Regions from separate parts of the Homo sapiens genome. Here regions 2, 3 and 4 are each linked to region 1. The links are contacts of gene promoters, found by promoter capture Hi-C in human tissues and cell types (Jung and others, 2019). All regions are on one chromosome and are shown on one strand. The core of a region is centred on a gene start or on the middle of the fragment in contact, and the rest is flanking DNA. Distances in the headings are between cores, read along the strand shown.

Region 1 (3,042 bases), core at 284-2,783:
ATGGGGAAATTACTGAAAAATGAGAAGCCAGCAAATTTCTACTGGCACTTTGGACTCATTCCTGGGAGCCAAGAAAAGATTCACCTGGGCTTCAACAGTTCATGAGGCACTCCAGTCCTGAGGTTTTCCTGGCTCAGTCATGTGATTCCATCAGGGACTTCTGCAAAGACCTGGAAAACCTTAAAACATAAAAGTAAAATCATGACTCTGATACAGATATAAAAATGAGCACATGCTAAAGATTTTATTTAATTCAAGAGGAAACAGGCAGATATTATAACTGGTTCAAAAGAGAATCTGAGGGCTGGACATGGTGGCTCATGCCTGTAATCCCAGCACTTTGGGAGGCTGAGGCGGGTGGATCACTTGAGGTCAGGAGTTTAAGACCAGCCTGGCCAACATGGTGAAACCCCCATCTCTACTAAAAATTCAAAAATTAGTCGGGCTTGGTGGTGTGCACCTGTAATCCCAGTTACTTGGGAGGCTGAGGCAGGAGAATTCCTTGAACCAGTGAGCCAAGATCTCGCCACTGAACTCCAGCATGCACAGCAGAGTGAGACCCTGTCTCAAAATTAAAAAAAAAAAGAGAGAGAGAGAGAGAATCTGAGAAACAGACATATTTTCAGATCAGGAATATTGAAATGATTATGTAAATGGAGAAATGCAGTCAAAACTGCATTTTCTCTAGTGGGGATTGTGGGAAGTCAACCAACTTCCACCAGACAGAACATAACTTGCATCGATTACCTACAGTTTTCAAAGAGGTGTAAAATACCTCAAAGATAAGGAACAGGGTTGGAATCAAGTAACATGGCTTTCTAAATGTGCTTCGTTTTCCATTAAGACGCAAATTTCTTCTTCTGCTTGCCTCATCCTCTTCAGGAAGTAGAGTTCTGGCTAATTTTTTTCTTCTTTCAATTCTGTACATATTCTCTGAGTTTTCTAGCTATCACTAATTCAAAGTGATTTGGAAAAGCTGGAATTCTTTTTCTCCTTGTTGGGGCGAGGATGGTATCCTGTCCCAGGCTAATCCTCTATTATTTCATCCATGGGCTCTATTTACTGAAGTTTTCGTTAAATGTGTCATTGTGATCATAAGCTAGCATGATGCACCCTCTTGTTCCATTTGTCACGGTTGCACATGGACATTGATTTTAAGCCTTGAGCTCTCCGGTAAGGCAGGACTGGCCCAGGCATGGTCTACGAGATGCTACAGGAAGCAGAGACTTTCTAGACGTTCCCTTAAAGATAGTCAAGACATCCCCATGAAGACGTTCCCTTAAACTAAGGAGAAATTTGAGTCTGGGGTTCGGCGTTGCCAATTCTCTTAGCATAGAGCCTCTTAACCGCTAGACCAGATAGAGACATTTCAAATGGCTCCTAAATTTGGGGAGCGCGTAGGCTCATGGGAAATAGAGTCACGGTATTTGTCCTGGGACCGGCGGCGGGTCCCGGGAGGCGGACTTCCGGTGCATTCCTGCGCATGTGCACCCCTCTCTGTGTGCGTGTTCGCGCATGCGCGCCGCGGCCGCAGTGCCCTCGCTTCCTGTGCGTCCCCAGGTCACCGCTCGCCCTAGTTCCCAGGCTTTGGCCTCCGGTGGGCGAGAATCGCGGAGCCTGCGGGGCTGGGCGCCGAAGAGCCGGGCCGGCACCCAAGCGGGCGCGGGGCTGTGCGGGCCAGGCGGAGGCTCAAGCGGGGATCCCCGAGCACGACCCCCGGAGCCGACGGCGCTGGGGCCCAAGGGGCCGGCCGGGCGGTGACGACGGCGGAGGCGAAGGGGCGGCGGGACCCGGGCCCGGCCCGTGTGCGTCCTCGACGGCCCGGCCCCGGCTCCGCAGGACGGTGAGCCCCAGGGAGACGGATCTGGGCTCCGGGAGGGACGCCCCGCCTGGATTTGTCCCGTAGGCCCGGCCCGGGCCCCTCTGGAGCAGAACGGCCTTGGTGAGGTGGACAGGAAGGGACCTCGCGAGCAGACGCGCGCCCGCGACAGCAATCCCGCCCCGGCCTGTCGGGAGCGGTGGGGCAGAGGCTGCGGAGCCCCAGGAGGGTAAGTCGTGGGTTTGCGGGCCCGGGGCGAGAAGGGCCTGGGTGAAGTCACCGCGTGTAGGGCACCTTAGAGTGAGGGACAGTGGAAGGTCTCGATCGCTTGCAGGAGTGACGTGTGTTTGGGTTTGAAGGCAGGGTCCGGCGAGGACGAGGCTTACGGGGGCGTGGGGGGTGTCACCAGCCTCAGCTGCGGACGTTGTCTCCACTCCCCCCTCACCCCAGCAGCCCTTCCTCCTCTCTCTGCTCCAGATTGCTACCGTATCTAAACGTCCGTCAGCACCTCTGTTCTCTCATTTAAGTGCTGATTCCCCCTTAGGTCTGCTCTTGTGGAATCATACGTTGTAGTGCAGGAACAGCCTGCAGGAACTATCTCTTGCTGCCTCATTTGCTAGGGGAAGGGCCTTAGCAGGTGGGTGACTTGTCCGAGGTTTTGTGGGTGGAGTTGCTCATAGTAGAACTCTGGAGTTTTATCTCCCAGGCCAGTGTTCTGTCCCCCGTATCCTAGTTAAGTGAGCGTAAGTTCTTCAATAAAAGATCCTTTTGAGTAGCACACTGAAGTTTCTGCAAATAAAGACTCAATTATGCCGACTGTATTCCTTTATTTAGGGCATCCTGTGGATTTTCTGATCTTTATTTAAAAGAGTAAGAAAATAGATGAGTATTACAGAATTCATTTTTTGTTGTTTGTTTTTTGTTTGTTTGTTTGTTTGTTTTTGAGACAAGTTTCGCTTTGTTGCCCAGGCTGGAGTGCAATGGTGCCATCCCAGCTCACTGCAACCTCCGCCTCCCGGGTTCAAGCGATTCTCCTGCCTCAGCCTCCCGAGTAGCTGGGGTTACAGGCGCCCGCCACCACGCCCAGCTAATTTTTGTATTTTTACTAGACATGGGGTTTCACCATGTTGGCCAGGCTGGTCACCAGAATTCCTTTTTAAATCTTGCATTTAATGATGGCAGATTATTTCAGTAGGATCCAGTATTCATTCACCATGAGAATC
Region 2 (3,042 bases), core at 206-2,705, 940 kb before region 1:
TTATTTTAAATTAGCTGGGTGTGATGGCACGTGCCTGCAGTCCCAGCTACTCAGAAAGCTGAGCCTTGAGCTCAGGAGTTCAAGGCTGCATTGCACCACAATCACGCCACTGCAGTCCAGCCTCAGCAACAGAGGAAGACCCTGTCTCTTAAAGAAATGTATATATATAGCAAAAGTCATCAGGGCTTCAAGGAGAAATTTGACAATGCTACCATCTATAGGCTATGTCACATATTTATCGATAATTGAGATATTAAGCAGACAAAAAGAAAACAGAATTATGTGAACAGTGCAATTTACACACTGGATCCAACAACTGGAAAATACATTTTTTTGCCAAGCACACATGAAAAATTGTCCATGTTCCTAATAAGCCTTAAAGCAAGCCTCACATAATTTCAAAGAATTAGTCTCATATAATTGCAAAGAATTAGACAAACCATACCCTCAGATTATAATGCAGTTTCACTGGGAATTATCAAAATAACTTTAATAAAACCTATACATTTTGAAACAAAAATAATGCATGGGTCAAAAAAGAAATATGCTGAAAACTAGAAAATACCTAGAACTTAATGTACACCTGCTTATAAAAACTTGTGGGAAATGTCTAAAGCTCTAGTCAAAGATAACTATAGTGATCTAAAAGGTTTTATAGGTGAACACTACCAAACACTCAATAGATAATTTCAGTTTTATGTACAATCTTGGAGAATAAATAAAAGAAACACTCCACACTAATTTCACAAAACTAGTGTAACTGATACGGACAAGCGGCAGAAGGGTGGGGTCCCTGGCGAGGGCTCCACCCTTAAGCCTGGACCCATAGCCCTAAATGTGAACAGGCTGTTTTTGCACCCAAATGTTGCCTTTTGGCCCAATATGTCACCCCTATTCTGTGCCCATATAAACCCCAAACCCCAGGCTCCATGAGCAGAAGAGTGGCAGAGCAGCAGAATGGTGCAGCAGAGGAGAGAAGAGAGGAAGCATCTGAGTGTCGAGGGGAGTTTGGCTGGGGACGGTCAGAGAGGAGATTGGCCATGGGACAGCCGAACTCCAAGGGAAGATCATCTTCCCACTCCATCCCCTCTCCAGCTCCCCATCTGTATTAGTTCATTTTCATACTGCTGATAAAGACACCCCTGAGACTGGGTAATTTATAAAGAAAAAGGGGTTTAATGGACTCACAGTTCCACGTGGCTGGGGAGACCTCACAATCATGGCGGAAAGCAAAAGGTACGTCTTACATGGTGTCAGACGAGAGAATTAAAAAAAAAAAAAAAAAAAAAAAAATCCAGCGAAAGGGGTTTCCCCTTATAAAGCCATCAGATCTCGTGAGACTTATTCACTACCACGAGAACAGTATGGGGGAAACTGTCCCCATGATTCAGTTATCTCTCATCGGGTCCCTCCCACAACACATGGGAATTATGGGAGCTACAATTCAAGATGAGATTTGAGTGGGGCACAGCCAAACCGTATCACCATCCCACTGAGAGCCACCTCCATCACTCAATAAAATGCCCACATTCACCATCTTTCAAGCCCATGTAACCTGATTCCTCCTCGATGCTAGACAAGAATTCAGGATGCACTGGGTGTGGGAACCCAAAAAGGCTGTCACACTGACTCTACTGAGCTATTTAACACTTAAGCCATTCCCAGACGGCAGGGCTAAAAGAGCACTGTAACGCCCCTAGACACTGCCATGGGGCTGGAGGCCCAAATCACTCACCCCAACTCCTGCACCTGCTCACCTGCATGCTCCCTCTCCCGTAAGGGGTTTGAGTACACGGCAGCCGAGCAAACGAGCCACACCCTGGTTCCAAGTCCCACAAAGGGGTCCAGGGAATTCTCCTGTCTTATAACCATAATGCCAAATTTTGACAAGGACTATACAAAAAAGGAAAATTACAGACCAATCTCACTCATGAACATAGATTAAAAAAAAAAAAATCCTAAACAAAAACAACAGCAAATCAAATCCAGGAATATATATAAAAGACAATATATCATAACCAAGCTTCCAAGAATGTGAGCTTGGTTCAAACACTGAAAAATACATACTCATTTCAATCATCTCAATTAAGGCAAAAAATGCATTTGATCAAATTCCGTAACAATTCAATTAAAATGCTTATCAAACTAGGAATAGAAGGAAAATTCCTTAATCTAATAAACAGAAATTCAAGTTGGGAAGGACTTCGGGGAATACTCCTTAAAGGAAGCTGAATGCGGGTCCACTTCTCTGCCACATAGAACGTGGATTTACTTGATAGCTGAAGCTCCATCACTTACCTGGCCTATGAGATAACCATAAATATGGAACTAGATATTGAATGTAGAACTACAGAAAGACAGAAAGAACCTGGGGCCCTGAGTCTTAGTGCACTACCACATAAGTACTAAGTTGCACAGCTGTGGACTTCTTTCACATGTGAGAATAAGCGTTTGTGCATTAAAGATACTTTTGTTTATGCAGCTAAACCCCATCTTGACTTAAACACTATTTCTATTCAAAATGGTACTGAAGGCTCTATCCTAGGCAAAAGGTAAGAAAGATAAATAAAATATGTAAGAATTCTTAAGAAACAAAACTATAATTATTCAAATATGAATAGAAAATTCCAAAAAAAACTGATAGAAAATTCTTAAAATGGCATTTCTATATACCAAAACAATCAGTTAAAATCTTTAATTTAAAAAATGATACCATTCATAATAGCAACAAAAACAAGGTATCTAGGAATAAATCTAAGCTAAAAGTCAAAACTTTTATGTAGAAAAGTATGAGACCTTTTGGAAAGATTTTAAGAGGACCAAAATGGCTCAAGGATAGTAAGAGTTGACATTCAGGTGTTACTTTTCCTGAAATACATCCAAGGATACAGTGCAATTTTGATCAAAATTCCAACACAGTTTTTCCTGGAAATTCATAAGCTACATTCTATACAGAAGAGCAAAGAGACAAAAATAACCAAGACATTCCCGAGAACACAGCCCCAGACATCAAAAGTTATGATAAGCTACACTATTAAAGAA
Region 3 (3,042 bases), core at 402-2,901, 910 kb before region 1:
TGCATATTAAAAAATGCAATTTCAACATGATTGTCTCTTCGGTGGGCAGATAAAGAACAACAGTGAGGTATTCAAGATGCAAAATTCAGAAAACTTCCAAACAGTTATCAGAAAATAGCGAGGCCTGTAAGTTGAAGGAAAATATGTGAGCAGAGTGACAGTTTTGGGCAATGCCGTAAATGACACTATGACTTAATTAGCCCCCTTTTCTAAGCAACTATTCATTTTTCACAGGAGTTTGAAATATTACCCAGGAAAACAAGCCAATGATTTTGACTGTGAGAATTTCATACCATAAAATGTTAAGGTAATATAGTCTGTTTAATAATGGGCTTAAATGAATGGTTTTGTTAAAAGATCTTAGTATCTTTTCATCTGAATCTTGAAAGATAATTAGCAGGGAGAAATCTTCTGTTGAATAATTACTAATTAAAAAACTAGATAATTTAGCATTATTTTTACCTTAGCTACTCAATTAGGAAATATTTATTATTTAGATGGTGACATTTATTTTCATTAATTTAATTCTGCTTAACACGACATGATCATTTAAAGTTAAATTGTGTCAAGTAAATTTATCATAACCTTACAGAAAATCAGAAACAGTGCCACATTTCACTCAAATGTTTTCATATTTTTATTTAGCATTTGAGAGCTTTAAATGTTATGAAAATATTGGAACTGATGAGAGAATACATTTTCTTTTTAAGAGACGCATCTATTCTTTTAAGTGATCAGGGTCCCATTTAGTCAATTATTTTTTCCATATGGCTCAGAAATGTATGTCTTTGTTGGTCATATATTTGATTGACCTGTTATGAAAGGCAGACAGTTGACCACGAGTTGCCTCATTTTAGAATCTCCTTGGAAATGACTAAATGTTTTCCAGATGAACATACGGTGGACCAAGTGGGGAGCTAGGAATTAGAAATCATTGCCTCTAAACCAGGGGAATTTGTGGACTATTTCTGTTGGGACTCGGTGACCTCAAGGAATTGACCCACTGAGCAATTTCCTTCACTCTCCACAGTGTAAGTAAGTCATGAAAACAACTCAAGGTAACACATATATATTTATGGCTGCGCACAGTGGCTGACGCCTGTAATCCCAGCACTTTGGGATGCCACGGCAGGTGAATCACCTGAGGTCAGGAGTTCAAGACCAGCCTGGCTAACATGGTGAAACCTCGTCTCTACTAAAACTACAAAAATTAGCTGGGCGTGGTGGCATGCACCTGTAATCCCAGCTACTTGGGAGGCTGAGGCAGGAGAATCTCTTGAAGCCAGAAGGTGGAGGTTGTAGTGAGCTGAGATCACGCCACTGTGCTCCAGCCTGGGTGACAGAGTGAGACTGTGACTCAAAAAAAAAAATTATATATATATGCAACACTTGTTTCCACAGCAGAATTTAAGGCAGCTGCAAAGGCTTCTATCTTCTTTGCCCAATGTAAACTTCAGTTAGCAGTGGAGATATAAGGGGACAATCAATTTATTACTGTGTTATTTGTCACCAGACCACTCACCTGCCAAAATTGGCACTAATATCCCACTTTATCCCTTTTCAAGGAAAATAAAAATAACATTTCAATAGCAATAAAATATGTTCTATGTTGCTTTTCCTACTTTCTCTTCATCTCATAACCTAAACCTATTTAACATAATTTTTTTTTTTTTTTGAGACGGAGTCTCACTCTGTCACCCAGGCTGGAGTGCAGTGGTGCGATCTCGATTCACTGCAACCTCCACCTCCTGAGTTCAAGCGATTCTCCTGCCTCAGCCTCCCAAGTAGCTGGGACTACAGGCAAGCGCCACCACACCCGGCTAATGTTTTGTATTTTTAGTAGAGACGGGGTTTCACATATTGGCCAGGCTGGTCTCGAACTCCTGACCTTGTGATCCATCTGCCTCGGCCTCCCAAAGTGCTGGGATTACAGGTGTGAGCCACCGCGCCTGACCCAACATACAAATTTAAGAATACATTTTAAGCAGTACAGGGAAAATAAATGATGAGTATATACAAACTCTAAAATTCTACCTAAGATAATTTATTTTTCAAAAAAATAATGCTCCACTGTATAATCTGTTATTCAAAGTTGAATGGTTGGTACTTTTTAAAAGGAAAAATAGGCCCCCGCAAAAGGGCCAAAATACATTTGCGACGTTCGCCTAAAATAATTGGAAAATATACCAGTTATATACACATTTATGTTTTCTTAATCAAAAGAGTAGAAAGAAGTATAAGGCACAAAATGCTTCTAGGTATGACTCCCTAAACAATCTGGAACACAACATTTAGCTTCCATAATTTTAAAACACAGGAACTAGAGATAAATTGTCTGATAGATTGTCTTATTGGAAATTAGGTTAGGGGATTGCAGGGATTTGGAGAAAGAAACTAATGCATAATGACACCCATTTGCAACAAAAGAACACTTCAAGGGATTTATCTAAAATACATTTCAGAAATGGATGATTTGGGTTGATGCATTTGAATCTTTAAAAATTTTATTAGTTAAAATCATTAAGTCAGTGACATTTAGAAACACTGCTGCTGCCTTCTGTGTTCTCAACAGATTCTAAATTCAGCTACATGTATCTTGTGATTACAAGATATGCTTACAAATAGCAATAATTGTTGCAAAACAAATTACAGAGTGGCACAGGAAAACATTCTCCCTCCAACAGAGAGGGAGAGTGGATTACCTCACTCATATAGCCTGCAGGTTATATAATGAAGATTGCAGACTTTAAAATGAAAAAGAAATGTATGCCAAAATAGAAAAGTGATTTCATGAAAAATAAAGACAGATTCTTTTGTTTAGGGGAAAACACCTAAAGAATTGATGAGAAAATTCAGGCGCAAATATTTAAGTGTTTATGACTCTGTAAACTGTTTCTAAAAAGCTTATTTATTCATTTCCATAACTATTCATAGGATACAGTCATGCAAATAACAGCTTTTTCATATAGGGCTTGAAAATATTACAATTATATTGCACAATATTTCACAACAAATGTACATTTGTACATATACACAATATAT
Region 4 (3,042 bases), core at 140-2,639, 860 kb before region 1:
TACTTCACTTCCATGTATCTTTGCCTCTCCATTTCTACTGGTTCTTTACTTTCAACACATACTCAAGTTATTCCCATTTTCTCTTCAAAGGAGAGGATCATATTTGCTCTCTGTAATTCCACTTCCCCCTCTCTCCCTTGAATTCACTCCATTCAGTCCTTCATGCCCACCATGCCACGAAACTGCCACTTGTCAAGGTCACCTGTGAGCTCCATGCTGCCAGTTTCAATGGCCAAAGCTTCACTCTTGCAACTTCTGTTGTTCTTGACTACTTCCTCTCTTGACATGTCTCATTCACTTTGTTGCATATCATCACTTTCTTCTGGTTTGTCTTTTATCCCTGTGACTTCACTGTTCCTTAAACATGACAAGCATGCTCTTGCCTCAGGGCTTCTTCACTAGCTATTCCCTCTGTCTGGAATGCAGAAATCTACATGACTCATACTCTCCCTTTACTCAAGACTGCTCACTTGTCACTGACTACCTATAAATTAGCTCCTTTGTTGTTGTCTTTATGACACCACAACTTCACATACGTCGCCATCTCTTTACTTTCCTATAGTTATCTTCTAGACTGTGTCTTCTCCTTATCTCCAGTTTTCATTCTGTATTTTTTTTCTTTTTAGTAAGAGGAAATAACTCTACATTCAAATTTGAGCAGGGCACTTGGTGACCTACTTAGACATGACATTCCTTGGCCTCCCTTTCAGCAAGGTAAGGCTATATCAAAAAGTTATGTCCTGTAAGATGTGAGTAGAACTGGATCATGTCCCTTAAAAGGAAAGCTGCTTGCTATACACTTTCTCTTCCCTCTTCTTGCTGTCTGGCAAATGGCAAAAAGAAATACAGACTGGAAATGGAAGCCATGTATTAAGGAAGGCAAAGCTGTTCTCACTAGCCTAAGTCCCAAACTAATCTCAGGGAGCTGGGGCACCTCCTCCCTTGGATCAACCACAGACTTCTGGACCATTATGCAAGAGAAAATAAACTTTGTTCTTTAAAAAATCATTGTTTGTTTGGACCTGGTAGAGCAGCTTAGCCAATTCCCTAATTAAAACAGAGGGGCTCTGTCTATTTTATTCTCTGCTTAATCACCAGGATGTAAAACAGTACCTAATAAATGTGGTAAATAAAAATGTATTGAATAAATCCTAAAACAACGTATTTATTCTACATCCTCCTCCAGCTAATGTCCCTTTTTCAACTTTCTTTTCCACTCAAGCTTTGTGAAAGTATATATTTTTTCATATTGCCACTAATTCTTCTAAAGCCCCTCACAGGAATAAGTGACACCTTTCTCAGTCTTTTTGGAAACTGATTCCCCTTCTCTACTAAACCAAGATCCTTGCAGGTAGCAATCTTTTAGCATGGAACTTTGGATTTCCCTTAGCACCTGTTGCATAGGTATCCAAAAAATATTTACTGAGTTGAGTGAGTGCTTTGTATCTTTGGAAACAGTAAACCGTAGCAGAGAACTTGACAGACTGGTCTGAGATTACACTAGTTGCCTTTACTAAACATGCGTTTTACAATAGATCCTAGGGCCACTGTAGTTCAGTCTCGGTATTTTGTTTGTTTTTAATTTAAGCTTTTGTATTCCTAATAGGATTTTTTTATTGTTGTTTTTTTGAGATGGAGCCTCGCTCTGTCGCCCAGGCTGGAGTGCTGTGGTGTAGTCTCAACTCACCACAATCACTGCCTCCCAGGTTCAAGTGATTCTCCTGCCTCAGCCTCCTGAGTAGCTGGGATTACAGGCATGCGCCACCATGCCTGGCTAATTTTTATATTTTCAGTAGAGATGGGATTTCACCATGTTGGCCAGGCTGGTCTCGAACTCCTGACCTCAAGTGATCTGCCTGCCTCATCCTCCCAAAGTGCTGGGATTACAGGCATGAGCCACTGCGCTTGGCCAGGATGTTCTTTTTAAGATTCTTCATTTATGTTGTGGTGATCCAGGAGAGGATTTTTGTTGTGGTTTTAAAACCAGAAGGATTGCAGTTGAAGGACAGCGAATTTCTTTCTTATTTACAGCTGCTCCTGGCAGCAATTCAGTTACTACAGTACTGGAACATTTTGTGAAGTCTGTGACTGGCTAATCCCAATTCTTTTTATTTCCACATGCACAAAATCAGTCTGTACCTGAGAGCAAGTTTTGCTTTTAGATGGAGGCTGGGCAGGTATCAAGCTGAAATGAAGCCCTGTAAACATGTGCCATGGCTTAGGTAATCTTTTCACATAGGTTGAAGATCAGAAGATCAGAGATATCTTAAAATAATGGCCTTCAAAAACTTTTCTAGAATATCCCCAAATAAATTTTTTAAATCAATGCATTTCTTCATGCATTTTGGGATTACACCTAACATTGTCAAAACAAATTTACATAGTTGTCAAGTATATGATTTGTAATATTTTTTAAATCTTTAAATTATAAGCAAAACAGGGCTGGGTGTGGTGGCTCATGCTTGTAATCCCAGCACTTTGAGAGGCCGAGGCAGGTGGATCACCTGAGGTCAGAAGTTCAGGACTAGTCTGGCCAACATGGTGAAAGCCCGTCTCTATTAAAAATACAAAAATTAGCAAGGCATGGTGGTGCGCACTTGTAGTCCCAGCTACTTGGGAGGCTGAGGCAGGAAAATCGCTTGAATGCGGGAGGCAGAGGTTGCAGTGAGTCAAGACTATGCCACTGCACTCCAGCCTGGGCAACAGAGTGAGACTCTGTCTCCAAAAAAAAAAAAAAAAAAAAAAGTTTTTGGAAAAATTTGACAAAGCATATCATGTGAATTCAGATTTACCTCAATACCAAGAATTATGTTTAAATAGGACAAGGAAGATTTTTTAAGTTTTTATTTTAAGTTTAGGGGTACATGTGCAGGTTTGCCATATAGGTAAACTCATGTTATGGGGGTTTGTTATATAGATTATTTAGTTACTCAGGGATTAAGCCTAGTACCTGTTATTTTCCCTGATTCTCTCCCTTGTCTCACCCTCCACCCCTGGTAGGCCCTAATGTCTGTTGTTTCCCTCTATGCGTCCATGTGTTCT

What was found. Contacts are between HindIII fragments. The study calls those that stand out against the background at their distance.
Region 2: a fragment that was not itself captured here is called in contact with the fragment with the promoter of ZNF12 in region 1 in 1 of the 25 tissues and cell types used here (dorsolateral prefrontal cortex).
Region 3: a contact is called between a fragment that was not itself captured here and the fragment with the promoter of ZNF12 in region 1, in 1 of the 25 tissues and cell types used here (dorsolateral prefrontal cortex).
Region 4: a fragment that was not itself captured here is called in contact with the fragment with the promoter of ZNF12 in region 1 in 1 of the 25 tissues and cell types used here (dorsolateral prefrontal cortex).

Annotation. Positions count from the first base shown.
Region 1 is chr7:6,705,438-6,708,479 of GRCh38, reverse strand. It overlaps ZNF12 (zinc finger protein 12), which reads left to right and starts at 1,533. Exons shown (of 5, transcript NM_016265.4): 1 at 1,533-2,048. RefSeq lists an enhancer at 1,365-1,864 and a silencer at 1,558-1,917. The HindIII fragment of the contact is 19,528 bases long and covers 1-3,042 here.
Region 2 is chr7:7,644,732-7,647,773 of GRCh38, reverse strand. The region is part of intron 4 of RPA3 (replication protein A3); the gene reads left to right. All of the region lies in intron 1 of UMAD1 (UBAP1-MVB12-associated (UMA) domain containing 1), which reads right to left. Among named protein-coding and RNA genes, the nearest start is that of UMAD1, 5.5 kb to the right of the region's middle. The HindIII fragment of the contact is 8,445 bases long and covers 1-3,042 here.
Region 3 is chr7:7,620,389-7,623,430 of GRCh38, reverse strand. No RefSeq gene overlaps it. Among named protein-coding and RNA genes, the nearest start is that of UMAD1, 19 kb to the left of the region's middle. The HindIII fragment of the contact is 3,021 bases long and covers 141-3,042 here.
Region 4 is chr7:7,561,909-7,564,950 of GRCh38, reverse strand. It overlaps MIOS-DT (MIOS divergent transcript), which reads left to right. Exons shown (of 5, transcript NR_110084.1): 2 at 627-714. Among named protein-coding and RNA genes, the nearest start is that of MIOS-DT, 2.6 kb to the left of the region's middle. The HindIII fragment of the contact is 3,978 bases long and covers 1-3,042 here.